Regions from separate parts of the Homo sapiens genome. Here all the other regions are linked to region 5. Evidence: promoter capture Hi-C in 16 types of primary human blood cells and fetal thymus (Javierre and others, 2016). All regions are on one chromosome and are shown on one strand. Each heading gives the region's core, a stretch centred on a gene start or on the middle of the fragment in contact. The rest is flanking DNA. Distances are from core to core; before and after follow the strand shown.

Region 1 (3,875 bases), core at 1,341-3,840, 620 kb after region 5:
TCCATTAATCTCTCCTCTTTCCTTCACTTACAAAATCCCTAAAAGAGTTCTTACATGATAGATGTGCATGAAGACTGCATTTTTAAAAAGTGGGATCATATTTTGAATGCACAGCGGGGTGGATAGAGAATCACTGGGTATGGAGGAGTTCTTGCAGGTGGTCCTTGAATTCAAGTGTGTCCCAACATTGAATGGGCACGGCGTAATGAGACATGTATCTACACTATTATTTTTCAACTATGTAAGGATTCTATTGTCATTGCGTACCTACAGATTCATTAAAGGTGTTACTAAATTCATAACATATATTCATTACATATTTTCCCCAGCAAATTACAAGGACTGTTATGTGGAAATGTTCATGAATTTTTTTTTCTTTTTCTTTTTGAGATGGAATCCCACTCTGTCATCTAGGCTGGAGTGCAGTGGCGTGATCTCGGCTCACTGCAACCCCTGCCTCCTGGGTTCAAGCGATTCTCCTGCCTCAGCCTCCTGAGTAGCTGGGATTACAGGCACGTGCCACCACGCCTGGCTAATTTTTGTATTTTTAGTAGAGACAGGGTTTCACCATGTTGGTCAGGCTGGTCTCGAACTCCTGACCTTGTGACCCGCCCGCCTCAGCCTCCCAAAGTGCTGGGATTACAGGCGTCAGCCACCACACCCGGCGGAAAATTTTTGACATAAAAAAATTGGGAAACATCATATAAAAATATTTTGCATTATAGATAAATTCTGAAGTGACTTGAAGAATACTTTTGTAAAATGATTAGTTACCTATGAATAAATGTAGGTTTTGAAGCACAACATTCCGTTGAACTCTATATTTCCCTAGTTACTAATCTGCCACATGAATCACGACAATAAATTAGACATTTTGCTTTAATTCATATTTCTCATTATGACTGTATCTTGCAAATGAGGCAAAATCAGATGTGGCCAAAAGGTAAAATTAGTTCATTTGCCATGGCTGAGCTATGGGGTTCTCCCAGAGTCTCCGCCTTATTGCAGGGCCATACTTTTTAGCTGCAATTAATTGGATAACAGATTACTTTCATGCAACTCTTTCTTTTCTTTTTTTAAAAAATATTTTCGTTACATTCACAACACCATGCGATGTTGTGTATGGGGGGTTAATTCCATTTGTATATGAGGAAACTCTGGCTCAGAGTTAGAGAAGTCAGGATGGCTACTAGGGCCTGGTGTCTCTAAAGTGTGTCATTCTCTTGTACCTATACACATGGGGCTGCAGGGCTAGGCAGGCGGTATCAGTGAGTGCAATTACACAAAGGTGAGGAGAGGTGGCGCTTTCATTGGCCTCCGTGTCAGAGAGTGGAGGGGACAATAGGAAATACAGGCCCTGTTGAGAGGAGCCACTACCCAACTCCAGTCTTGCCATCATGCGGGAATGTGGATTTGGTGTTGCCAGATCTTTGAGTTTTTAGCAGAAGCCAAATATTTGAGTGTCCATAGGAAATCTCTGGATCTTAAAATATTAGCTGCTAATTCAGATTTCTAAAAACACAATCTAATGCAGCACTCTGGGCCAAACCAACCAAATCTGCAGTCTGTCACCCCTGTTCCACACCACGCTGCTGGGAAGTATGTCAGCTGCAGACTGGCACTGAAGACCACAGAGTTAACTGTCAGAAGTAGATATTGCCTTTGAAATTGGAGAAAGAGACTGTTAAGCAGCTCTTAAAAGACATGAAGTGACAATGAAGCAAATCTTCAAAAGGTGAAAGAGCATTTAGACACTTCAAGGAAAGTTTCTGAAGTCTGAACAGATAGGCTTTGACAAAGGGACCGCTTTCATCACGTATCCTTCTCTTGTTCTCACAATAATTGAGTCCTTGCTGTGTCCCAAATGGTATTCTGAGCACTTTGTAAGTAGGTATAAGCATTATCTCATTTAAATCTCACTGCAACCCTGGGAAGAATGAACTACCTATCATTATCCCTTTTTTATAAAAGCTTGGAGAAGTGACAGGGCTGAGATTTGAACCCAGGTGGGCTTCAAAGCCTGCTTACTCACTTAATAGCCCATACAGTTATTCTTCCATTACTTGGTTCCTCATTCAAGGCATTGAATATTAGGAGCTGGAATTCACTGGCTGTGGAGTCCCAAAGCTTTATGCTCTACTCTCATGAGCTTTCAATGAAACACTTAGTAAAATCTTTCTTTTGGGCAGAGCTTGATGAGTCTGAGCTAATTTATATAGATGACTTTCATCAGCTGGCATTTACATCCCAATTTTTAATTAGCTAATTCCTTTCCCAAACACTTCATTTATTCCTATTTCAATAGAAGGTTTAAAACAGAAAAAATCAATTTGTAAATGAGTATCATTTGTCCTGTTTTCAGTTAAGCAGGAATGGCAATCATTTAAAAATGAATTTATTAATGAAGAGTATAATAATTTCTCCTTTGCTTTTCTGGAAGGTGGTAATTCACAGTCATTGAATTTAAATGTATTCAGTCTGCTCAATAAAGCTGGTAGTGTGGAGAATAGGGAAGTCTAGCTGGACATTTGGGTTTCATTCTTTACGTAAGTAAAGGCAGTTGGTCATCGGTACTTGCAAGACGCTTAATAAACCGATAGCTTATATAGACAGTTATTTTCTTTCTCTTAGGCAGTCAAGGCTTTCTTTTCAATGGGTAAGGTAACTGATGAGGGATACTGTGTGCATCATTGAGATAAAGGTGCAGGGCAGTCTGGCAGTCATGCAGAAAAAAACCTTGCCTTGGCTCAGAGCATTCACGCCTTCAATAACTACTCACTGAACTTGAGGACAAAGACCTTTTCTCCCACACAGCTTCCTCCCTCCTCAGCTACACATTCTGTATGTGGTCTCCTAGTTACGAGAGTACAGTACTCCAGTCCCTCAAGCCTGAACTTGGGCCTCCTGCCACCAGTCAGAGGATGAATGCTGGTACATGCAGCTCCTTTGCAGTAAACTCCAGGGAAGCACTACTATCTTGTTCCCAAGAGGAAGTCATGAATCCTGAAAGAAGTTTGATAAGGAGGACAGTGGTGGTTAGAAACTAAGCTTAGGGATGCTTTATCATAGCCAATGGCACAGTAGCTAAAGCTGGATGGTCTAATATGGTAGCCTCTGGCCACATGTGGCTCTTTAATTTTCTAATTTTTACTTCTAATTGTGGTGAAACGCACATAGCATAAAATTTACCATCCTAACCATTTTTAACTGTAGAGTTCAGAAGTGTTAAGGACATCCATATTGTTGCACAACTGATCTCCAGAGCCTTTTCATCTTGCAAAACTGAAATCTGTACGCAGATTGTAAACAACTTATTCCCTTCTGCCCAGCCCTTGGCAACCACCATTCTACTTTCTATTTCTATGAGTTTTACTATTCTAGATGCCTTATGTAAGTTTTTTCGTGACTGGCTTATATCACTTAGCCTAATATTGGCTGTTTAACTTGAAATTAATTAAAAATTTGGTTCCTTCGTTGAACTAGCCACATTTCAAGTACCAGATAGCCCATCCGGCTGGTGGCTACTGTATTGGATGGTGCAGATAGAGACTATTTCTATCATCTCAGAAAATGCTCCTGGACAGCGTTGGTCTGAAGGAAAACTGGTGGCTCGCACTGAGAGCTGATTGGAGGGGGGACAAGGAGAAAAAGTAGCAGATATTTTTTTATACTCTGCCAACGTGAATAATCTGACTTCTTTTCTCTACCACAAAAATGTACCAGCTACATGATACCTTTACATTTACAACTTCCATCCTTATCCTAAACTCCAGTCTTTAATGTCTCCTCTCCTCCAATAGCATGCAACATTAAACTAATCAGTTGGAAAATACAGAGAACATAAATGTATAGTACAAACTACAGATAAATGCACT
Region 2 (3,791 bases), core at 231-2,730, 710 kb after region 5:
GCGGGGCTGTCCTGGCAGCGCCATGCGCCTCGGAGGTATTGCCTAGCCTGGGAGAGGCAGGCGGGATAAGCGGGCCGCTGATGGTTTTGTTGGGAAGCCTGGGAGAGGGCGCGCGGGAGCCAGGGCCCTGCCCTGTCTTGCCACCTGGAAGTGAAAGAGATTCTGGGTTAGCTCGGCAATAAAGAAGGAGAAAGCCCCCGCAGGTAGGCGGCACTCAGGACACTCAAGCCTGCCCGCAGTGAGCTGCACTGTAGACCGCTTTTTCTGCACGTGTCCACTGAGAGGCCTCAGGTGCCACAGCTGTCACCCAGAAGGACCAACTGGACCAGATCCAAAGTCCTTGCCAGCATTAATGACAAGCCCAGGTCAGGCCTCCAGCCCTCCTATCCATGCCACCTGTGCTGTCATCTGCCTTGGGCCTCTAGTATCCCAGCCAGGGCCAGGACTGCCCGGGTGTCTTTTGCCCTTCCTAATCAAGGCCACACTCACGAACTCATTCACTGACACCCGCTAGGTCCATCAGCCCTTATGCTCTAATTTGGACCCTCAGGTGTACCAACCAGCACTCCTGGCTAGGGAGGTTTTCTTCACTCCCAGCATTTTGTGAAATTTGACTTTCTTTGTTTCTGTGTTGAGAGCAGAAAATTCATGATTCCCTGAATACATAAGGTAAGACTGGAGGGAGACATTTGCCCTTGACAACCCAGGTCCAATGACCTTGAACCTCACAGTTCTATGACCTCTGGAAGTTCAAAACCTCCTTTCCCAAAGACTTATGCTAATTCCCAAGGGTTTTGGCTTTCTCATCCTATAGATCCTTCATTGCATCTGCCCCAGCTTGAAATTCAATTCCTCTTTTAAATTCAACAACAACCATTGGCTCTTGATAAGCATTTGCGTTTGGTTTTCATGGAAGACTCAGGTGGAGCACGTCCCCAGGAGGGGCCTCTATACTCCGCACAGCCTTGCACCTTTTTGCCAGTTCTCACCCTTTTTTCGCTCTGCCTCTCTCTAATAAGAAAAAGTTCCTCTCGTTGTTTACTGCCTCGAAGTTCTGCAATTACTGCTTAGAGATGTCCTTGGAGTATCACTGTCTACTCAGGAGGCAGATTAAAATATTTCTTCCAGATTTAGTGCTCTTTTTATAAGAATTCTGGGGGGTGTTTTCCCCTATATTTTATAATCACCATGACAACATGTGGACAACACTTGAAAAATGATGTTTTCTCACACCCACTACTTCCTGGGTGCTGCAGCATGGGACCTGCAGCTTTCATTTCAGATTAGAAATCCCAGCATCTGTTGGGGGTTCTGAGATTTGCAGTACTTGAGTCTCCTGTGTGTTTACCCCAATCAGGGGCTAAGCCATACACTTAAAGTACTGGATGTCAAAAGCCAGGCCAATCAAAGCACGGCCTAGCAGAGGTGACTCAGGTGAAGCTAAGTAGGCAAGACCTTGGTATCTGGCTTTCCAAATATGAGCCCCTCTGGCTATAATGTGACAGTCACCTAGACCATAATATTCCAACCACATTATGGAATGGCTGTTCTTAAGGTAGGGTGAGGATGGTATTAGCAGGTGTCAGCTCAGGGATTCCTGCCTAGAAGTTCTCAAACCTTTTTCCATATAATACAAAAAGATGACGAGGAGAACCTAGGCAGCTGCCTAAACAAGGCAGAGCCTACCTACATGCCCAGTGGCTGAATGAAATTGAAAGGGATAATGAAAGTTTACAAAACAGAGCAAAGCCTACCCTTAAATAGCCTATCCAAACCTTTTAAGTAACTGAGGACACCATGTCTCAGAGATTCAAAAACCCTTAAAGTGAGTCAGTTAAAAGTAGGGGATCCTGTGTTGATGAAGCCACCAACCAAATGAGAAATGTGGGCAAACTCATTTTTATCCTAACATGCGCAGCAGAAGCGAGGGCGGGCATGCCCCTCAGGGAGGAAGGTGAGACTGCAGAGGAGAAAGGGGCTGATGGTGTAAGTGCAGGCAAGTGGAGGAGGCAGGCCTGGGCCGACAGAGAGCTCCGAGGGAGTTGAAGGAAGTAAGGGAGGAGGCTGTCCTTCACAATGGAAACCCGAGCCCTAGAAATCCAGAGAAAACACAAAGGAGGCCAGGAGGTGGCGGGAAAGGCCAGATTGAGGGCATCAGGGATGCTGTGCCCATAGGAAAGGATTCAGCTTTTAGAACATGCAGGTTTAGCAAAAGATGAAATATTTCTTCTTCCTCAAATCTGAATGTTCTCCAGAAGACCTTGGAAGTCTCATTACATATTCTATTCAACCCAGAAATAATGTTTACTCATCATATCTTATTGTAATTCTCACTCCCTTAGAGCTCTAGGCCAAGGTTGCATTATGACTCCAGGGTCCCTAGGCACTTTTGCCTTTGTGGGCCTCTTCTCTATTAAAAAAATATTTATATTCATGACTGCATTGGTACAAAGACAAATACATTCTTTGATCCTAAAAGGTCATATGTTTTCTTCTGATTTTAAAAGAAATTTAAATATTTTCATGGGTCCCTAAAAGTACCATGAGCCCATGACACTGTGCTATGGTCCCTAATGAATGTCAGCCACCACACTACCATTCACACATGCAATTCAGCAAGTATTTACTGAGCACCTGCCATGCGCCAGGCATTTCTATGGCAATGAACAAAACATAGTCCCTGCCTTCACGGAGCTTAGCTTCAGATGGATCAGACAGACAATAAACAGATAAACCAGTGAATACATGATATGTCAGGTGGTGCCGAGTAATACAAGAAAAGTAAATTGAGGAAAAGGAGATATGGAATGAAAGGATAGGACTAAACCTTTATATGGGATAATAAGTGAAGACCTCACGGACACTTTGATCAGCTGCCACCTGAGCAGAGACCTGCAGGAAGGGAGAGACTGAGCCACGTGGACACCTGCGGATGAGCCTTTCAGGCCAAGGGAGAGTCGGTGCAAGCGCCCAGTGGCAGCAACATGCTGGTGTGTGAGAGCAGCAAGGAGGATAGTGTGAGTGGAGGGGATGGCATGAACCACCAAGAAAGGTAGGCCAGAAGATCAGAGAGGGAGCAAAGGCTCAAGTCCCTTCCTCTGATGAGAAGGGGGCTGTTGGGAAAGTGCTGGGAGCAGGGAGCCACGGCCTGCCTTGCCCTGACATGGTACCCAGTCCATGTGTTTATCTGGTGGCTTTCTCCTTGAGTTTCCATCCTGGAACAGGCATCATTAGTCACTTCCTTATGGACCTCCATCTCTAAAGAGATAAATTCTTGTCTTCCCCATTACAGCGGCTCAAACATCTGACACTTATGTCCCACTGGTGACAAGCAGACCAGTAGGACTCCTGCTGGCTATTTTTGGCTGCTTCCTATGAAAACCTGACTGGGGCCCATTTCTCCCATCTTCTATGAAGAGAAACTGGTGGAAGCCTTCTATTCCAAAGGATATTTGTTTGATAGCACTCGGGAATTTTGAAAAAGAAGAGGACACTGAAGAATATCCACTGTCTTTATTGAGGAAGACCTTGTACTCTACCTTTCCTGCTAACCCCTCAGCAAAAATGAGGAAATGAACATGGCCCCTGAGAAGGTTCAAGTTGGATCTCAAAATATCCTAGAGTCTTTTTCTTTGCTGGACTTTTATTGGTGAGTGAGGCAGCATAATCATCCCATAACATTAAACAGTCACAGAAGCCACTGAAAAAGTTAGAAAAGTCGCATGATGGAAGATCTGGTACGAGGAAGGTTTGGGCCTTTGTATTTCCTCCTGTATTAATGGTATTCCTGG
Region 3 (3,997 bases), core at 872-3,371, 560 kb after region 5:
TTTTTATATATACTAAAATCACTGACTTGTACATTTTAAATGGATGAATTTTATGGTTTATGAATTATCTCCATAAAGATGTTAAAATGTTAACAACAACAAAAAGGGTTGACCAGTGGTTGTGAAACCAAGAATCCTCATACTCCAGATGTCTTCCTGGTACTGTTTACACAGCACTAGTATATATAGTATATAGGGCAAGAGTCACCTTCCTCCACCTGAGGGGAAACAAAATTATAGCACATCCTTAATGAAAACCATCTGGCCAGTATGATGCAGGCTTTTGTTATTTTCAGAATGCAGTAATGCAATGTGCTTGAGCTTTAACCTGCTGGAGAGGCACAAGCAGCCTTCGGCTGGCTGGAGTTCACAACAGCAGCCCTCCTATCAGCTGAGTGGGCAGGAAAAGGACCTAAAACTACAAAGTAGAAAGCACAGGTTAGAAAATTTCCTCGTGGCAAAACATATGCACAACATTGGGCAGTCAAAGCTTTCTTCACTTCTGAATTCCTCCCCACTTCCCACCCCCGAAATAGTCTGCTATTCTAGGTCAAACATACTTTAAATATAGGTACATTATGAATCAGCTAGAATTACATAATGATCAAGCAAGAAGGACCTTTAAAAGTATTGTCTAATGGAGCACTGACTCTGAAGCCACTTAATAAGTGGCTGTGTGACCTTCAGCAAACCCACGTCTCTATATCTCAGTGTCTTCATCTGGAAAATGGGCATAATAAAGGCAACTGTTTTTTGAAATTGCTGCAAAGACTGAGTTAATCCATGTAAAATGTTTAGAAAAGTGCTTGGCACATTGTAAGTACTAATAAATTTTTAACAGTTCTTACAATTATAAACTAGTAAATCCCATTATTTTAAATGGAGGAAGATACTAAGGCTCAGGATGCTAAAGTGACCCTGCAGTTGGCAGTAATAGGGCTGTTTGCCAGGCTTCAGGTCTCTCTGACTCCTGAACCAGCGTTCTAGAGTATTAATGTGTAGCCCTACATGTATAATACTCCTTGACTAAATTTTAGGTCTTGAAAGACACAAATAACAAACACAGTGCTTCTTTAGAAGTATGTCTCACACAATGTGGGAATCTGTAACATGTTTTTAATTTACTCTCTTCATCCCAAGTTTAATCTTCTAACATCTAAAGAAAGGTACTGGCACTAAATCCCGGAATGTCCAAAAGGCAGGATGAAACCAGACTGTAAACGAAAATACATGTAAACTTTTTTTTTTTTGTATTTTTCATTGAAGGAGGATAGAGTACCTGAATACGCTTAGCATTTAAGGGAAGAGACTTCTTTTCTCTTCTAGAAATACACTCACATAAACCTCAGACGCTATTATCAGGGCTTGATGAATTCTAACTTTCAGTAATTAATACCTATCGATTTAAAATTCAAGAGGCAAAAGAAGCTCACAAAATAATAATACATAGTATTTAGTGAAGTACAATAAATGCAGCAGGAGAGATATAAAGATGTAACCAGAAAATGTTCTACGCTACGCTAAAGCCAGAGTAAGCTTTTAAACAATCTCATCATTTCTCTCTCACAGACGCATGCATGCATGTACCCACATGCACACACACAATCACATCACAGTGTTTAAACCAGCCTATGAGGCCCTGAAATATCTAGCCTCCCGCACACCCCTGCATCTTTGTTGGAGCCTCACTCTCCTCAGCTCTCAGCCAGATGGGTCCTCTTTCCTTTCCTCAAACTCGCACGTCTCCATTCTGCTTTGGGGCCTTGACACTGGCATTCCCTGTGCCTGAAAAGTTCTTCTTTATTTCCTCTAACTACACCTCTGCCTTGGCCTCTCCAGCGAACTATTAACAGCTTGATTTATCCTTCAGACTCTGCTTAAATTTTTCCTCAAAGAAGCTTTCTCTAACAACCCGTACTAGCCTCTCTGCCCTCCCTCCTCCCCAATCAATCACACACAATGAAACATGGTTCTAACCACTTAACCAATAAATATCTTTCTTCCCCCACCAGACTGTAGGCTCAAGAAGGGCATGGGCTTTGTTCAACATTGCTTCCCCTGTGCCTAGCACAGTAGATGGTAAATGAAATTAACAACATCCCCTAAGGATTCAAAAGACCAAGTGATAAACTGATTTCCTAACTTCACTCAAATTTGACACAAGGCATCCCATATCAAGCTGTCAGCATGACAAATACACAAACCATACAGAGGCATGGGTTACGTACTACCTTTGGAGAAAAATTCAGAATGAACAAAAACTTGGATTGGGATTGTATGTATTTTAAAGTTAGTATGTGCAAACCTACAAGAAAAAAAAAGTTACTTTTTAAAACAAGCTTCAGAAAAAGAAAAAGTAACTTGTCACTAACACAACATGCTCACTTCCGAAGAACAAGTAGAAAAGTGGAGGGTGGAGGAAACAAGAATGCATGTGATCCTCCTAGGCTATTACCACTTCTTTCCCAAGTAAATTTATCTCCTAAAAGGAGAGAATATGCCGAACCATCATTCTATGTATATCTGGAAAATACCCAGTGGTGTGATGGGCTTCTATGAACAGTATGCCTACAAGGACGGGGCACGTGGGCTAAGGGAACAAGCAGCATCACGTAGAGACAGCTGTCTCTGGCAATGGCTCCAGTGCCCTCTTCTTCAGGGTTTCCACCCTAGCACCACTCACAGCATTAACTTCTCTTACTTTGGGAAGAAAAAAGTAGACTCTTTTCCAACAGAACAGATAGGAATCAAATAACAAAGATTCCAAAAGATCCTTCTAGAGAGTTCTGCTTTATTGAAGGATACACAAGGACAGTCAGCAACAACAACAGCAAAAGCATTTCACTACCAGGAAATAGTTACTGTATCAAGAGACTAAACTTTCTATATAGAAAGGAGAAGGAAAAGAGGGGGAAAAAACCCCACAAAACAACAAAAAAAGTTGGGGATGGGGAAGAATGGGAAAAAAAGAAGAATGTTGAAGATGAATGAAAAAAAGTGTGTGTAATGGAAAGGAGTGAAGGATCAGGAACTAAATTTTACTCAAGTATATGCATCTGAGAGCTTAGAGAGACCTCAGAAGGAAAACTGCCAGGTCGAGCCTCCTCCCCTTAGGTTAGCAGTGTTGATCAGCCTCTGTCATCCACCAAACCAAAGCCTAGCTTTGAGTTATTCTCATCTAATCTAATTGCAGACATCACTGAAGGTCCTTGACGCAAACAAGAAAAACCTCTTCTCATTTAGTCTCTATTAATGATTACAGAAAAAAAATAAACAGGTGAACTCACTGCTAATTACACTAAGCAAAGGGAAGAGATTCTGGGTACGCCCAATAGGGGCACCTTTGGCTGTGCTGTGTGACCTCCTCGAAGTTACTATGTATGCCAACTGATCCTCCCACACACACCCATTCTTAAAACACCCGGCGCATTACCATACTACAACCTTTTAAAAACTATCCCACAAAAGAAAGAAAACGTCTCTCACCCACTCTAAGGGATACTGGGAACATTTCTGCTTTCAAACACACTGCCTTTAAAATTTTAAAGACCTAATTCATTTTCTGTGATAAAAAGTTTACTTCCAAAAAAGTGGCTAGCACAGTTTCCAGCATATAGTAGGCTTGTATTAAATACTAGTTGCACACATGACAAAAATGATCGTTCTGAATAATTTTCACAGCTGTAGAACAGTTACAACCTTCTCAAGATATGAAGCTTTTACCTCCACAAACTAGAAAAAAAGGGCGGGGACTATTTTAAAGCCAATCTGTAAGGCACGGCAAGAAAGTTGCAAATATTTGCATTCATTTAACGGTAATTTCTGAGTCTGTAAAACAAAAGGAAATGCTCAACGAGAAAATAAAAAACCTTGTGCAGAGCTTTGAAACTGTGGAGTTGGGACTCTTGACACCCTGGTGTGCACGCAGATGACTCTGAAGGTGACAAAGGGAAAGTGTTTGCACTGAGGACTTTGATAAAGGATCTTTCCGCTGTGG
Region 4 (3,559 bases), core at 766-3,265, 580 kb after region 5:
TTAGAGGTCAACATTTGAAAAGCCTTTTGCAATAGCCCAAGGCTTGCTATTTTCATGTTATAATGAAATAGTTTATGTGTAACTGGCTCTGAGTCTCTGCTTGAGGACCAGAGGAAAATGGTTGTTGGACCTGACTTGTTAATGGCTACTGCTTTACTAAGGAGATGTGCAATGCTGAAGTTAGAAACAAGGTTAATAGCCAGGCATGGTGGCTCATGCCTGTAATCCCAGCACTTTGGGAGGCTGAGGCGGGCGGATCACCTGAGGTTGGGAGTTCGAGACCAGCCTGACCAACACGGAGAAACCCTATCTCTACTAAAAATACAAAAGTAGCCGGGCGTGGTGATGCGTGCCTGTAATCCCAGCTACCCAGGAAGGCTGAGGCGGCAGAATCACTTGAACCCGGAGGCGGAGGTTGCGGTAAGCCGAGATCACCTCCAGCCTGGACACTCTGTCTCGAAAAAAAGAAAAGAAACACGGTTAATAACATATAAATATGTATGCATTGAGACATGCTACCTAGGACTTAAGCTGATGAAGCTTGGCTCCTAGTGATTGGTGGCCTATTATGATAAATAGGACAAATCATTTATGTGTGAGTTTCTTTGTAATAAAATGTATCAATATGTTATAGATGAGGTAGAAAGTTATATTTATATTCAATATTTACTTCTTAAGGCTAGCGGAATATCCTTCCTGGTTCTTTAATGGGTAGTCTATAGTATATTATACTACAATAACATTGTATCATAAGATAAAGTAGTAAACCAGTCTACATTTTCCCATTTCTGTCTCATCAAAAACTGAAGTTAGCTGGGTGTGGTGGCTCATGCCTGTAATCCCAGCACTTTGGGGGCCAAGGAGGGTGGATCACTTGAGATCAGGAGTTCAAGACCAGCCTGGCCAACATGGTGAAACCTTGTCTCTACTAAAAATACAAAAATTAGCCAGGCGTGGTGGTGCACACCTGTAGTCCCAGCTACTCGGGAGGCTGAGACAGGAGATTTGCTTGAACCCGGGAGGCGGAGGTTGCAGTGAGCCAAGATTGTGCCACTGCACTCCAGCCTGGGTGACAGAGCAAGACTCCATCTCAAAAAAAAAAAAAGAAGCAGACCTACAGCAGCTACTATTGAATAAATACCTATCCTGGATTTTAAAAAAGAAAAAAATATATATAATTTTATTTTAAATTGGCTTTTATCTTTAATTCTTTTTTTTAAAGTTATCAAATCTTCATTTTCTAAGAGTAGCCCTTTATAGTGTACAAAATGATATTAAGTGCATTATTATCTTCGCTTTTCATGGCTCTGAGTCATAAAACAAGCTGGTGGATCTCACTGTACCTAATTTATAGACGAGGAAATTGTCATTCAAAAAGATTGACTGTTATGCCCAGGGTCAGCACTAACCTGCAGAACCAGTATTCAGTCCCCAAGTTCAGTGTCTTCTACTGCCCTCTACTAATGAAAAGTGAAAATTTCCCTGGGGTCTAATTCTCTCTTCAGTTTGCTGTGCCGTTGTTTATCTTTGAGTCTTCATTCTCTGAAGATGGCTTTCTGCCTGTTTCTGGTACATTAGAATTCTCACTATGATATAGAAATGGCTTCAGTTTCATAGCATAATCTTGCAGTTAGCTCTGAATTGCCTCAAAAACCCTGAACAACGCGAGGTTCCAGATGTGTTTTACTTCTTTCATTCATATTTACCCCCATTTGTTGTTTAAAAAGAATTATGAACAATTATTACATCATATGTAGACCACTTTCACTGATTATATGTTGACATTTTCCTCAGTAAAACATAAAGTTCTTAACAAGACTATACTGTAACACCTTTCTCCAACAAAATCAGCTGTATGTTGAAAACTATTAAGTCATTGCTAATGTTTTAAGCCATAATACAGACAGCCTTATACTCTATGATGGGAGAAGGGAAAGTAGTTTGTCCGATGGTGCTACTCTGTATAAACATTACTGATGCTATCTATAGTAGGGCAAGAAAAGTAAAAAGAGTTTTGATTATTCAGGCAGCATTTTTAAAAACCTGTGAATTTGTATCAGTTCTCATCTAAACATTTGGACACAAGTATAAAATGAAAACATATGCACAAGTTATGGTTTTTAAGTTATCTGCTCTTTTTTTTGGTTTCACTGTACCTTTGTACTCTTCTATTAGTGGGAATAATCAGACATGAACTGTGACTTCACATGTACAGTCATACCTCACTTAATGATGGAGATGCACTCTGAGAAATGTCTAATTAGGTTATTTCATCGTTGTGGGAACATCATAGAGTGTACTTACACAAACCTAGATAGTGTAGCCTGCTACACATGTAGGACATGTATATAGCCTATTGCTCCTAGGCTACAGCATGTTGCTGTTCTGAATCATGTAGGCAATTGTAACACAATGGCAAGTGTCTGTTTATTCAAACATCTAAACACAGAAAAGATACTACAACAATAACAATATGGTATAAAAGATTTTGTAAAAAATCTGGTCAGGTGCAGTGGTTCACGCCTGTAATCCTAGCACTTTGGGAGGCTGCCTCAGCAGGTGGATTGCTTGAGCCCAGAAGCTCAAGACCAGCCTGGGCAACATGGCGAAACCCCGTCTCTGCTAAAAGTACAAAAGCTGAGGTTGGAGGATCACCTGAGCCTGGCAAGGTCAAGGCTGCAGTGAGCCATGATCATACCACTGCACTCCAGCCTGGGTGACAGAGTGACTCCCCATCTAAAAAAAAAAATATATATATATATATATACTATATATATATATATACCATATATATGGTATATATATATATAGTATATATATATATGGTGTGTGTATATATATATATATGGTATACCTGTATAGGGCACTTACTAACGGAGCTTACAGAACTGGAAGTTGCTCTGGATGAGTCAGTGGTGAGTGAATGTAAAGGCCTAGGACATTACTGTACACTACTGTAGACTTTATAAACACCGTACACTTAGGTGACACTAAAATTTATAAAAAATGTTTTTCTTCTGGTTGGGCATGGTGCCTTATGCCTATAATCCCAGCATTATGGGAGGCCAAGGTGGGTGGATCACTCGAGGTCATGAGTTTGGGACCAGCCGGGCCAACATGGCTAAACCCCATCTCTACTAAAAATACGATAATTAGCCAGGTGTGGTGGCACATGCGTGTAGTCCCAGCTAATTGAGAGGCTGAGGCAGGAGAATTGCTTGAATCCAGGAGGTGGAGGTTGCAGTGAGCCAAGATCGAACCACTGCACTCTAGTCTGGGTGACAGAGGAGCAAGACTCTGTCTCAAAAAAAAAAATTCTATAATTTTTATAGAAATAATAAAAAACTAACCTTAGCTTACTGTAAATTTTCTAGTTTAGAAACTTATTTAAAAACAATTTTTGGACTCTTCTAGTAATAACGTAGCTTAAAACACACATTGCATAGCTGTACAAAAATATTTTCCTTATATCCTTATTATATAAGCTTTTATCTATTTAAATTTTGAATTTTTAAACTTTTTGGTCAAAAACCAAGACAAACACACTAGCCTAGGCCTA
Region 5 (3,885 bases), core at 1,015-3,514:
AGATATCTTTAAGGACTGTGAAGCTGCCAAGCTCACAGCAAAAGATACGAGTCTTCCCAAATTCTAAAATTTCCCCAAAGTTTGAATTTTATTATTGGCCACAAATACTAACCGTTGTTTTCTTAAAGTGACAAACTCACTTCATTCATTTTCCAGATTAACAAATTTCTATGAAACATGTGCTACTAACAAGACCAGTCATTAAGTAAAAATCCCACTCCGGAAAGGTTTTCAATTGCACTTCACAATGGAGTTATCCAAAATGGATAGGGGTGACAGTGTGTCTCATTTCCCCATATACAAAAAATGGGTAAAATTAGATCATCTTTAAATTATTTTTCAGCTGACATAGGACTCAGTAATTCACACAATTAACTAACTGATATATGTGTGTTCTTGGAAAATTAGAAAAAAATATCCAAACTAACTTAAATCAACTAACTCGTATATTCGGAAAATATCTTAAAGTACAAAACAATAATCAAGACAACATAAACAATACACAAGACAGTAGTTAGTAGCATCGGAAAGCTGCCGCGATCAAAGTTTACTTTAGTTAACTAGATCCTGTCTTAACTACCGATGGATGATTTTCACTGCAGTTCCAGGCTAACGTGGCAGAGGGAGGGGTTTGGGTGTGGTGGTTTTTTTTTTTCTCCAAATTAGTTGTATGCTTCCTTCTAAAGGGAAGGATATTTTTTAAAATGGCAAGTTAAGAAAAGACAAAGGAACCACACCTAATTTTATTTGTGGAGTGGAAGGTGGGTGGAGGGAGACAGAATATGCAATCGGTGTTCTGACACCAATCATGAAGAAAAAAGTTAAGCCCGTGGTGATATTTCAAAATGAAAGGCTATTTATTAAAATCGGTCAGGCTCAAACCAGCGAAGAGGACAGATGGCAAAGTGGCTGAATTTGCGGCAGCTATGCCCCAATGAATTATTTCCGAGATAGGGTTCCACCCTCTGTAGCTAAGGCAAATTATTGCATCAGGCGCCCATGCAGGAGAAACCCGTTTGGTGTTTACTACTAAGTCATGATCTCCGGGGTCCTACTGCAAGCTCTGGCTCTCCCTAATTGCATATGGGAATCATCTGAAATAATCTTTTCCTTGATATCTCTAAATTCTAAACTCTATGGCAGTGCCCTAGGAAAAGGAGGTCTATATTAAATCACCAAGTCCTTCAGCCCATGAAACCTTCCCTCACCTTCGGGAAAATCAAATGTCAAAATATTCCATACTAAGGATGGCTGACTTCACTCCGCAACACTTAGTTTCCCAGGTTTACGATCTGAGGGCTCACTGGTTCCAAACGGCCTTTTCAGAAGCCAGAAAAGATGACAAGAGCAAAGGATGATGAGTTCACAGCATTAATAGAAAAGTTCGACACCTCCCCACATCCACATTTCAATTCTATTTTCTCAGCCAATCATTCCGCTAAACTAAGCACTGAATGAAGGAAGATGTTAAGGGGGAAACACTATCAAAGCATCCTAAAGATTAAAGGGCCTGGCCGTAAGACGAAAGAACCGGCAGTTTTTCGGCTCATCATTGACCACTGAAAGAATTAGGAGGCTTTCCACCCAGGGTGCACAAAGAGTACAGCAGAGCCTGGAAAACTGAAGTTAAGGTTATTCAGTTAGGAGGCGAGGACAACCAAAGGGTCACAGATCCCAGCCCCACTGGAAATAGAGGAGACGCGGGCTGTGACAGAATGGGGAAGGGAGAACGGAGCCGGAGAGGGACGCAGGAAGTCGGAGGGGTTCCAGGGAGTCATCCAAAAAGAGAGGAGGACGGAGGTCCGCGGGAGAGGAGGTGGCTGACGCACGGGGGACTTGGGACCAAAGTGGGGGAGGCGAAGAAGACGCCAGAGGATGAAGGGAAAGAAAGGGGTAACCGAAGAGGAGGACAGTTCCCCGGGGAGGAGGGAAGGATGACCAGAAGAAGGCCCTGGGAGGAGAGCCGGAGGCTTAGCGGAGAGCGCAAAACACCGGTACCTGCTGGCGCACTGCTAGCCTCAGAGGTGCCAGCACCTCCTCAGCCCCCGCGCCGTCCATGCTGCTCCGGGAGGCGGCGGCGGGCAAGGAGATCGGGGGGCAGGAGGCCGCGCTGAGGGACCGGCGGAGCAGGAGCGAGGGTCGGGCTAAGAGCCGGGGCGGCAGCAGCAGCAGCAGAGCGGCGCGAGCACCTCTAAGCAGCACTGGACGCGGAGAGGGCATGAGCCTGCGGCCCTGGGCTGTCCAGAGAGGGTGGCGACGGAAGCGGCGCGCGCCGCCCGGCTCGGAGCATGATGAAATCGCCGCGTAAACGACGCGGCGCGCGTGCTGCCGCACATTCACCACCGCGTGACGCGGCGCCGGGTCGCCGCCGCAGATTCGACACAAAACCCGGAAGGACCCCGCCGAAGGTTTTCTCCGGTTCGGGAGAGAGGTAGGTAGGGTTGCGAGCGAACAGATTTGCACAGAAGTGCGTCAAGCCACCCCAGCAGGGTGGATGTTCAGGGACACAGCTCTGAGCGAGACCTGCAGGCCGAGACACACGAGAACCTTCAAAGCATAGGTTTTTATACGAGTGACACCCCGGCCGACCTACTTGAACGGACACTTCTGTTTCTGTTCTTTCGCGCCCTGCGCCTTAAAAGGGTCGCAAAACATCAAATCAGATAGGGATCTTAGACTTCTGTTGCTCAAGTGCAGATGTTCCCCAGATAAGGAAATAGGCCCAGAGAGGTTAATGATTTGCCCAGAGTCACACATTCTTGGTCCGCCGATGTCAAGACAAAAGCTGGCGAACGGGGGAGGAGGAGTGAGGGGATAGAGTCACCCCAGGCTTTCTGGAGAAGGTAAATTCCAATCTGCCCTTGCGGGGCGAGCAGGATTTGAACCGGCAGAGATGAGGAAAGGCAAGAGGTGCCTGATAAGTCTTTCTGCTTGGCATAGCCTCAGTCTATCTGCCTCCTGTGGTTAGGCCCCAGCTGACCAACCACCCAGAGATGGCTTCCCCCCGCCCCACACACCCAGTTCCTCCTGCCCAAAGGGTGGAGGGCCTAGAAAAGCTGGGTTCCCCCTCCAGGAAAGGAAGAGAAAAATGATGTGTTGGTTATAAAAACAGCATTGCGCACACCTGCAAAAATGGCTAAAATGAAAATGATGGAAAATGCCAAGTGACCCTCTGAGACTCCCCTACACTGCTCAGGGGAGTGTTAACTGGTGCAGCCAGCCACTTGGGAGCTCTTCGGCAGTATGCACGTACGTCTCCCTGTGACCCACAATCCCACCCCAGGAGTGTGCAGGAGTAGACGGGCTCAGTATAATGAAGTCTCCTTTCCTAATGGTGTGAAAGTCCATGTTATTTCTCTTCCCGTTCCAGTGTGCAGTTCTGGAGAAGTACTTACAATTCAACATGAGCAGGGTGGGTTGCTTAAGAACCTTCTGCAATATTGAACAATTATATTTTTAAACACTTTTATTTCAAGATTTGATATTAATTATAATTTATTTGGCTTTTATTTTACTAGGCAATTTTGAATTTATTTTAATATCTTTAAATGTGAAAAATCATTTTAAGTTTTACTTTTATTTTTATTTAGATTTTTATTAAAATGTTGAAATTCTATATCCTTTGAATAAAACTATTTTATTTCTAAAAAATTCCTTAGATCAATAATGTCTCATCCATTTTCATGTTAGGACAGTCCTGAAAGGACTCCAAATCCGTTCTTCCCTCCTCCCCGACCAATTCATCCTCCCCACTGCTGCTTCAGTCATTCTTTCTTTCTTTTTTCTTTTTCTTTTTTTTTCCAGACGGAGTCTCGCTCTTTCACCCAGGCTGGAGTGCAGTGGCGTGATCTTGGCTCACTGCAACCTCCGCCTCCCGGGTTCAGG
Region 6 (3,463 bases), core at 753-3,252, 670 kb after region 5:
GCCTGCCAGGAGCAGCCCTCTGATCCAGCAGTGTTTCCTCTGGATGTGGGGAGGGTAGGATAAGGCTCTCTCCCCGGCGTTACAGTTGGCCATAGTGGTCCCTTAGCCCGTTGGCCTGGGATCCCAGGCCACAGCTGTTTATATGCGTGGCTCTTGTGTGTGTGTGTGTGTGTGGGTGGGTGGGTGGGGGGGTGATGTATCCTAGACTTGTACAAGTACACACACATGCAGGCATACGCACAGCCATTTTCCCGAAGATAACATCCATCCTGCCGAGAGAACTGAATTGAAGAGAGCTGGGGGGCATTAGCTACCTGCTGTGCCCTGTGCTAGCTCTCTCACACAACCAGACTTCTGTGTGGTGTGCACCCTCCAAGGCCTCTTCTGTCATCTTTCTTACTCTGTCCCCTCCTTGGGTCTGTCAGAGATATTCCATAGATTTTTCAGTAAGGTAGAACCTCAGAAAAAAACTAAAAACAAACCCAAACCAAAAGGCCCTTCCTTTCCCAAAGGCTGCTTCTCAGACCACGGTATTAAAAAAAAAAAAGGCAAACCTCTCTCGCTCAGCTAGATGGCTCCTTGCACCGTTTCTCAGAACACTGTTTGTTTGCCTCACTTTTTATTGCTAAAAGAGTCCTCTCAAATGGTTCAGAACAAAGGAAGTCTGTTTTGATGTCTCTTTGCTGTAAGTAGAGGAATTTGCAGCTTGTAAATGGCTGCAGTTTTGCTAAAATAGCGACTAAAACATGCAGTTATGTCTCTCTTGGCACTCACCCACCCACCCGTCACCCACACCCACCACCCACCATAAGTTGGCTTGGGAAATGTTTGCTGAATAAAAGGACAGTCTCTGGGTGTTCCCGGGTCCCAGCCTCTGCCTGGCTGAAGTGCCTCTCCTTCCTCTCCAGGTCCATATTCAAGCCTTTCATCTTTGTTGATGACGTAAAACTTGTCCCCAAAACACAGTCTCCCTGTTTTGGGGATGACGACCCTGCCAAAAAGGAGCCTCGGTTCCAGGAGAAACCAGACCGCCGGCATGAGCTGTACAAAGCCCACGAGTGGGCACGTGCCATCATCGAAAGTGACCAGGTGAGCTTGCATGAGGGCCACAGAGGCGGAGGCGGAGGCGGGCGGGCGAGGTCAGCGAGGAAGGAGGCAGGGAAGCAGATGTCAAGCTAGACCCTACCCCCACCCATCCAGTGTGACCGGGCTTCTCCCAGAGACCAGGTTCCTGGGGCCTTTCCTAGAAGGCTGGTGTCCATTTTCCTGCCCAGGCTCTTGAAACCAAATAAGACAAAGCTTCTGCTTCTCATGTTATTTTGGAATTCAGCAGGCTGAGTATCTTACTTACATTTACTGTTTACGTAGGAATAATAGGAATATGCAGTACGTTAGGGATAACTGTTATATATTGTGTAAAATTCCTTATGTACTTTTGGGGGTAAAAAGTTGTTATTTGCTGGCAACATTTTATTAAAGATACAATCATATGTTGTTTCAAAAAAGTTCTGGAGTTGGCTGGTGGTGCTGGTTGCACAACATTGTGAATGAGCTTAATGCACTGAACTATACATTTTAAAGTTTTTAAATGGTCAATCTTATGTTATAATACATATGTTTTACCATAGTACAAACATAGTTTTAGAAAATATTCTCATATTCCTAGGGTTTTTTTTTTTTTTTTTTGTATTTTTAGTAGAGACGGGGTTTCACCCTGTTGGCCAGGCTGGTCTTGAACTCCTGAGCTCAAGCAATCCACCTGCTTCTGCCTCCCAAAGTGCTGGGATTACAAGCAGGAGCCACCGCGCCCAGACTCATATTCCTAGTTTTAAAAAAGAAGTCGTAATCCTTCAAAGTGCAGCTCTCCCCAGTCCCACACCTTTGGTTAATAAAGTGATAAGTCATCAATTCAAACAAGAAAACCACCCAAAGCACGTTCCACAGCACCCAGTGTGTCCACAGCAGCCACCCCGATGGACTTTATATAAATTCAAGCCTATATTTTGCTGAAGAGAGGAAGAAGGAACGTGCTTGTTAGACACTCATCAGTTTTCCCCAACTATTTATGTAACAACTTTTAATAGGTCCAAACTGGCCTGAAGGGCCCAAAAGGGGGACCTTTTGTGTAAATTGGTGCTGTGGACTGTGTGAGCCTCTTGCATTTGACATGGTGGACTATAGAAAAAGGATATCAAGAGAAAAATCCAAGCAATAAATCCAGATGAATTCAGAAAGCATCTCTGAGAAGGGCTGTCTCACTTTTCTGAGAGCTTGCCCTTCTCTTCCATAGAAGTGACCATTTGACACGTAAAGGTCGCACAGTTATTTTACATCTCTCCTCCCTGCCAGCCTAAAAAGGCTGGCAGATAATCGGAAGCATGCATGCTGCCACTGCATTCAACTGTGTTTTCTCCAGGGCTGTCCACATTAGTTCCTGATAGTGCTTATGTTCTTGGTGGATGACCATAAGCCCCAAGTAGATGAAAACTGTCGCTGTGTGGTGTATGGTGTTTTGGGTATTTGGTTCATTAGAATGAAGAGGTAGAAAGGGCTGTGTGTTCAAGATGAGGCTGCTGAGGCTGGTGGGTTTTGAAATTTACAAATGACTCTCAGGTGGAGTCACATGATGCTGCATGAAGCAGTGGTGGGCGGGTGGTGAGAGCAGCTTCTCAGTTCTGGGACTCATGGGGCAAATGAAAGCTTTCACTGTCATCTGCCATAAATGAGTGAGTCCCATGGAAGAAGTGAACTCACCATCTCAGAAAAAGAGTGAACAGGGGAGAGACATGGCACCTGTTTATTCATTGATCCATTTTTTTTTTCATTCAATGAACATTTTTTGAGAGTGCCCTCCCAGTCACTGGAGGATAGAAATGAGCCCAGTTCCCATCCAAGGGGCCACAGCTGCAGAGGCAAGCCAGCACAAGGTGGGAGACAGCGCCCATGGCAGGGGGAACGGTGTGGCACTGTGCGGGGAAGAGGAAAGGCTTTGCAAGGAAGCTGAAGATGGGTGCACGTCGACCAAGCGCTGAGAAAGGGGATGGCCCTCCAGAGGGCAGGGCCACCTGTGCAGGGGCGAGACAGCAGCAGAGGCTGGAGGGCTACAGTGAATTCAGTCCAGCTGAGGAGTGGGGAGATGCAGGGGAAGTGGTCTTGGATGTCAGAAGGGCCTTCCCTCAGTGTCACTCTGGGGTCTGGGCTTTGTCCTGAAGGCAGCAGAAAGCTGTGCAGGTGTTCTAAGCCGGGCAGTGACATAATCATACTGGCATTCTAGAACAATCCCTGCGGCAGTCGTGTGTGAAACGGAGTGTGGGGAGGACAGGACCTTGAGCAGGAAGCCAGCTGGCCCCCTAGAGGGTTTCAGTGTCCGCTGCAATGTCCCCTGCTATTTTGCTGACACCTAAAGCAGTCGTGTCCTTCCTCAGGAGCAAGGTCGCAAGCTGAGGAGCACCATGCTGGAGCT
Region 7 (3,503 bases), core at 595-3,094, 640 kb after region 5:
TATATATAAAAATATGAAAAATCATAAACTAGAAAAGAAAAATAGAACAGAGATCACTTCCCTCCTTTCCTCTCTATGTCTCAGTTATTTTTTCTTCCTTTTTCCCCTCTCCCAGCCACTACACAGCAGAAGGAACCTGCTGTGCGAGCTGGATAGGGCAGGGATCTTTGTCTGTACACTGCTGTGTCATAAGCACTGGGAACTGTGTGCCTGGCCTGTAATGAGTGATCAATAACTGAATTTTGAATGAATGACTAAAGTAGAAGGTAGGCTGGAACAAAGCAACATTCTGAAATGCCTTTTTTTGTCCCTGAAATAGTGAAATGAAATAAAATCATGACATAGTTGAAAGAAGATTGGGCTGGGAGCTGGAGTTCTTGGCTTTCAGTGTGGATGTACCAAGTTACATCACCTCTCTGGGCCACAGTTTCCTCATTTTTTCAATATGAGGTCTAGATTGGATGACTTCCGAAGAACTCCCAAAGCTAACATCCTAGAAAAAGGAATGGGGTTGGATTTTGGTTTTGTAGGGGGAAATGGCACATTTAGACAGTGGTCTCGGGAACTCACTCCTCTGCCACCTGATGGAGAGGTCTGCGAGGGACACCCTTTTGGTAGCACAGTGACTTCCTGCCTTCCTTACCTTTCCTTACTGTTCCTCATTCTTATAAACTCAGGAGGAGCAGCTTCCCTGAGCTGGGGAAAAGGCAGAAAAAGCCAGTTTTTAAAAACCAGTTATATATAGCTAGTTTTCTCTTGATTAGCAAAATGAAATGTATAGAATAACAAGAAGTTTTTTTTTTTTTAGCTTATGTTTTGACAGCTCTCCAGTATTTTTTACTGTATTTGCAGTATGAGACTTATAGAACAGGCAAAATTACCATTTTAACAGTTGATTTCTAAGGGACAGTGGAAGAGGATTTTTTGCCTTTCTTCAGAGCACCTGATATATCTTTTTAAGATTATCAACCAATAAAGCAACAGGAGTTTACTGAATATCTACTTTGTTCTAGACTCTGTGGGTACATGAAGCAGCTCAAAGCTTCAAAGGGATTTTAGTCTGGTTGCAGGAAGAAGAAAATTGAGCAATGGAAATTTTAAGAATAATATAAGAAGATAGTAGGAGAGAGGTAACTCAAAGTGATCTGAGATTTGATGCCACGTGAATGGCACAGAATTCCAGGGTGTGGCCTTCAGCAAACACTGCGGGATGTTCACAGATTATCACAGACTGGTCATATTTGGGAATGCTTTGAGGGGCAGGTTCATTTGACCTGAAGCTGCAAGGCTGAGGGAGGTAGACACAGAAGATATGTTTGTCACAGACTTGGCATTGTGATAATTAGCAAGGTCAGGAGTAGATGACAGGGTGAGAGTTTAACCTTCACCATATAACGTTAACTCCATCTTGGGCTAGCCATGTCCAGCTATTGTAATAAAAAGGGTGTGAAGAGCACTGGTAGGTTCTTCAGGGTGGGGATGGAGTCACAGGCATCTGCACCTTAAGTGGATCTTTTGAGTTCATCTTTAAAGCAGCTATGATCAGTTCAGCCAAGCATAGCCAGATTTTGAAGGGTCATTTCATACCAACCAAATCCTAAAAGTAACTCATGCTCATTACCCAGCATTCTCTCTCTCTCTCTCTTTTTTTTTTTTAGACAAGTCTTGCTCTGTTTCCTAGGAGTGCAGTGGTATGATCTCGGCTGATTGCAACCTCCGCCTCCCAGGTTCAAGCGATTCTCCTGCCTCAGCCTCCTGAGTAGATGGGATTACAGGTGTATGCCACCACACCCAGCTAATTTTTGTATTTTTAGTAGGGACGGGGTTTCACCATGTTGACCAGGCTGGTCTCGAACTTCTGACCTCAAGTGATCCGCCTGCCTCAGCCTCTCAGAGTGCTGGGATTACAGGCGTGGACCACCACATCCCACCCCAGATTTCCTTTTTAATGATTTAATTCTAGTATTAATTTTTAAGAAGCTCCAGATGATATTGATACTACAAGTCAAAAAACCACAGTTTGAGTGGCAAGTTCTAGAGTAGTGGTTCTCAAAGTATGGCTGGTGAACAAGCATCACCTGGGAACTTGCTAGAAATGTAAATTGTCGGTCCCTATTTCACACCCAGGGGCCAGCAACCTGTTTTAACAAGTTCTCCAGCTGGTGCTGATGCACGGTTACGGTGAGAACCGCTGCTCCACAGGAAACTTTCTATCAGTTGGTTTCATTCTCTTAATTTGGGGCTCAGTGCCTCCCTAGGTATTGCTGTGTGAGGAACCACTACTTTCTCTGGCCTTGCTTGCACTCTGTGTCTAGTGCCAGTTCCTCCCTGGACAGCTTCTATGAGAGCAGGCTATGTCCATTTCACATGCTCTTTCAAGGGCCTGCTAGACTGTGGTTGATTATTCAATGAATACAGTAGTTGCCCCTATACTTATCCTGGTACTTTGCACTTTCCAGCAGCATGTGAAATCCAACCTCAGTTCAAAGAGACATAAGGGAATGACAGTAGCAATGTAATAGGCACTGATTTTAAGATAAAGGTATAATTTGTGTATGTTTCCTAGAGGCTTGTGGGAATGTAAGCATTAGGCAATATTGTTTTTATAATGCGTTTTCAGTGACATTTATCTCAAAGCTAAGCTTCATCTGTTATTTTTGATTCACTGTTCTCTGACCACTAGTCCCTTTCTCCTGAGGAAGAGGCATATAAAGACACGTACACATTTTTGCATGTTTCATGAAGTTGGTTCCAAGTAATGAGTAGCCAATAGAAGCTAACATAAAAGTGGGAATTTGGCCAGGTGCAGTGGCTCATGCCTGTAATCCCAGTGTCACACGATCCTTACGGTGTTGCTTTTCCAGCCGGAAACCTCTGTGGCTGGTGGCACCTTTGCCTGAGTTTTGGTCGGGCTGCTGGGCTTGTTCCACCACTTGGCCCTGCACACTGTACTCAGCTTATGCTACTGGCCTGGATCCCATGCCTTCCAAGCACAAGCCAGGCGCAGAGAGGAAAGGGGTGTGTGAGCAAGCATGGGGTCCAGCCACTGCACACAGCCAGGTGTGCCAGCTGTGGCGGGATGGGCAGCTCTAGGCGTTGGCACAGGCACTAGCTCTGTGCGAGGCTGCAGCTGGACCAGGCGTACTGCAAATGGCTTCCACTGCAGTCACCAAGAAACGTGGTGCCTGGAAGCTTGGAAATGCCAGGAACTGCAGAGCCCCAAAGAGAGTGTCACAGTCCTGGCTCAGGGAGCCCCTAGGTCTGGACTCCCCAAAGGGCTGCAGCTCTTCTCTCCTTTTCATCACCTGCAATTTTGCAAATGGTGGGGGCTGGGGGTGTGCTTCAGCACTGTTTGTGTTATAGCTCTTTCAGTCCCACCATTTGGCGGGTCCCAAGCTCTTGTCCCATGTTCAGGAAGAGTGAGATACATGGACAGCTGGAGAGTGAGCAAGGTGGTGAGGAGCTTCATTGAGTGACAGAACAGCTCTCAGGGGACCCAAAGT

The links. The method cuts DNA at HindIII sites, captures the fragments that hold promoters and counts their contacts. A CHiCAGO score of 5 or more calls a contact.
Region 1: a fragment that was not itself captured here is called in contact with the fragment with the promoter of GARS1 in region 5 in 5 of 17 cell types (fetal thymus, monocytes, neutrophils and 2 more); the score reaches 12.0 in fetal thymus.
Region 2: a fragment that was not itself captured here is called in contact with the fragment with the promoter of GARS1 in region 5 in 1 of 17 cell types (naive B cells); the score reaches 6.0 in naive B cells.
Region 3: a contact is called between a fragment that was not itself captured here and the fragment with the promoter of GARS1 in region 5, in 12 of 17 cell types (non-activated CD4 T cells, naive CD4 T cells, activated CD4 T cells and 9 more). The highest score is 18.4, in non-activated CD4 T cells.
Region 4: a contact is called between a fragment that was not itself captured here and the fragment with the promoter of GARS1 in region 5, in 6 of 17 cell types (total B cells, activated CD4 T cells, naive B cells and 3 more). The highest score is 8.9, in total B cells.
Region 6: a fragment that was not itself captured here is called in contact with the fragment with the promoter of GARS1 in region 5 in 1 of 17 cell types (neutrophils); the score reaches 6.7 in neutrophils.
Region 7: a contact is called between a fragment that was not itself captured here and the fragment with the promoter of GARS1 in region 5, in 4 of 17 cell types (naive B cells, monocytes, total B cells and 1 more). The highest score is 7.8, in naive B cells.

The regions. Positions count from the first base shown.
Region 1 is chr7:29,975,875-29,979,749 of GRCh38, reverse strand. All of the region lies in intron 1 of SCRN1 (secernin 1), which reads left to right. Among named protein-coding and RNA genes, the nearest start is that of FKBP14-AS1, 11 kb to the left of the region's middle. The HindIII fragment of the contact is 921 bases long and covers 2,130-3,050 here.
Region 2 is chr7:29,880,203-29,883,993 of GRCh38, reverse strand. WIPF3 (WAS/WASL interacting protein family member 3) reads right to left here. Exons shown (of 9, transcript NM_001080529.3): 5 at 1-144. Among named protein-coding and RNA genes, the nearest start is that of WIPF3, 76 kb to the right of the region's middle. RefSeq lists an enhancer at 1-762. The HindIII fragment of the contact is 5,877 bases long and covers 1-3,791 here.
Region 3 is chr7:30,029,225-30,033,221 of GRCh38, reverse strand. The region is part of intron 1 of PLEKHA8 (pleckstrin homology domain containing A8); the gene reads right to left. Among named protein-coding and RNA genes, the nearest start is that of PLEKHA8, 2.8 kb to the right of the region's middle. The HindIII fragment of the contact is 441 bases long and covers 1,901-2,341 here.
Region 4 is chr7:30,010,801-30,014,359 of GRCh38, reverse strand. FKBP14 (FKBP prolyl isomerase 14) reads left to right here. Exons shown (of 4, transcript NM_017946.4): 4 at 1-3,559. All of the region lies in intron 2 of FKBP14-AS1 (FKBP14 antisense RNA 1), which reads right to left. Among named protein-coding and RNA genes, the nearest start is that of FKBP14, 14 kb to the left of the region's middle. The HindIII fragment of the contact is 2,945 bases long and covers 543-3,487 here.
Region 5 is chr7:30,593,257-30,597,141 of GRCh38, reverse strand. GARS1 (glycyl-tRNA synthetase 1) reads right to left here and starts at 2,264. Exons shown (of 17, transcript NM_002047.4): 1 at 1,999-2,264. The coding sequence starts at 2,220. RefSeq lists a silencer at 973-1,072 and enhancers at 968-1,581, 1,582-2,195, 2,216-2,565, 2,196-2,809. The HindIII fragment of the contact is 4,590 bases long and covers 1-3,885 here.
Region 6 is chr7:29,924,078-29,927,540 of GRCh38, reverse strand. It overlaps SCRN1 (secernin 1), which reads left to right. Exons shown (of 8, transcript NM_014766.5): 7 at 909-1,089; 8 at 3,426-3,463. Among named protein-coding and RNA genes, the nearest start is that of FKBP14-AS1, 63 kb to the left of the region's middle. The HindIII fragment of the contact is 1,401 bases long and covers 1,302-2,702 here.
Region 7 is chr7:29,950,837-29,954,339 of GRCh38, reverse strand. The region is part of intron 3 of SCRN1 (secernin 1); the gene reads left to right. Among named protein-coding and RNA genes, the nearest start is that of FKBP14-AS1, 36 kb to the left of the region's middle. The HindIII fragment of the contact is 1,600 bases long and covers 1,045-2,644 here.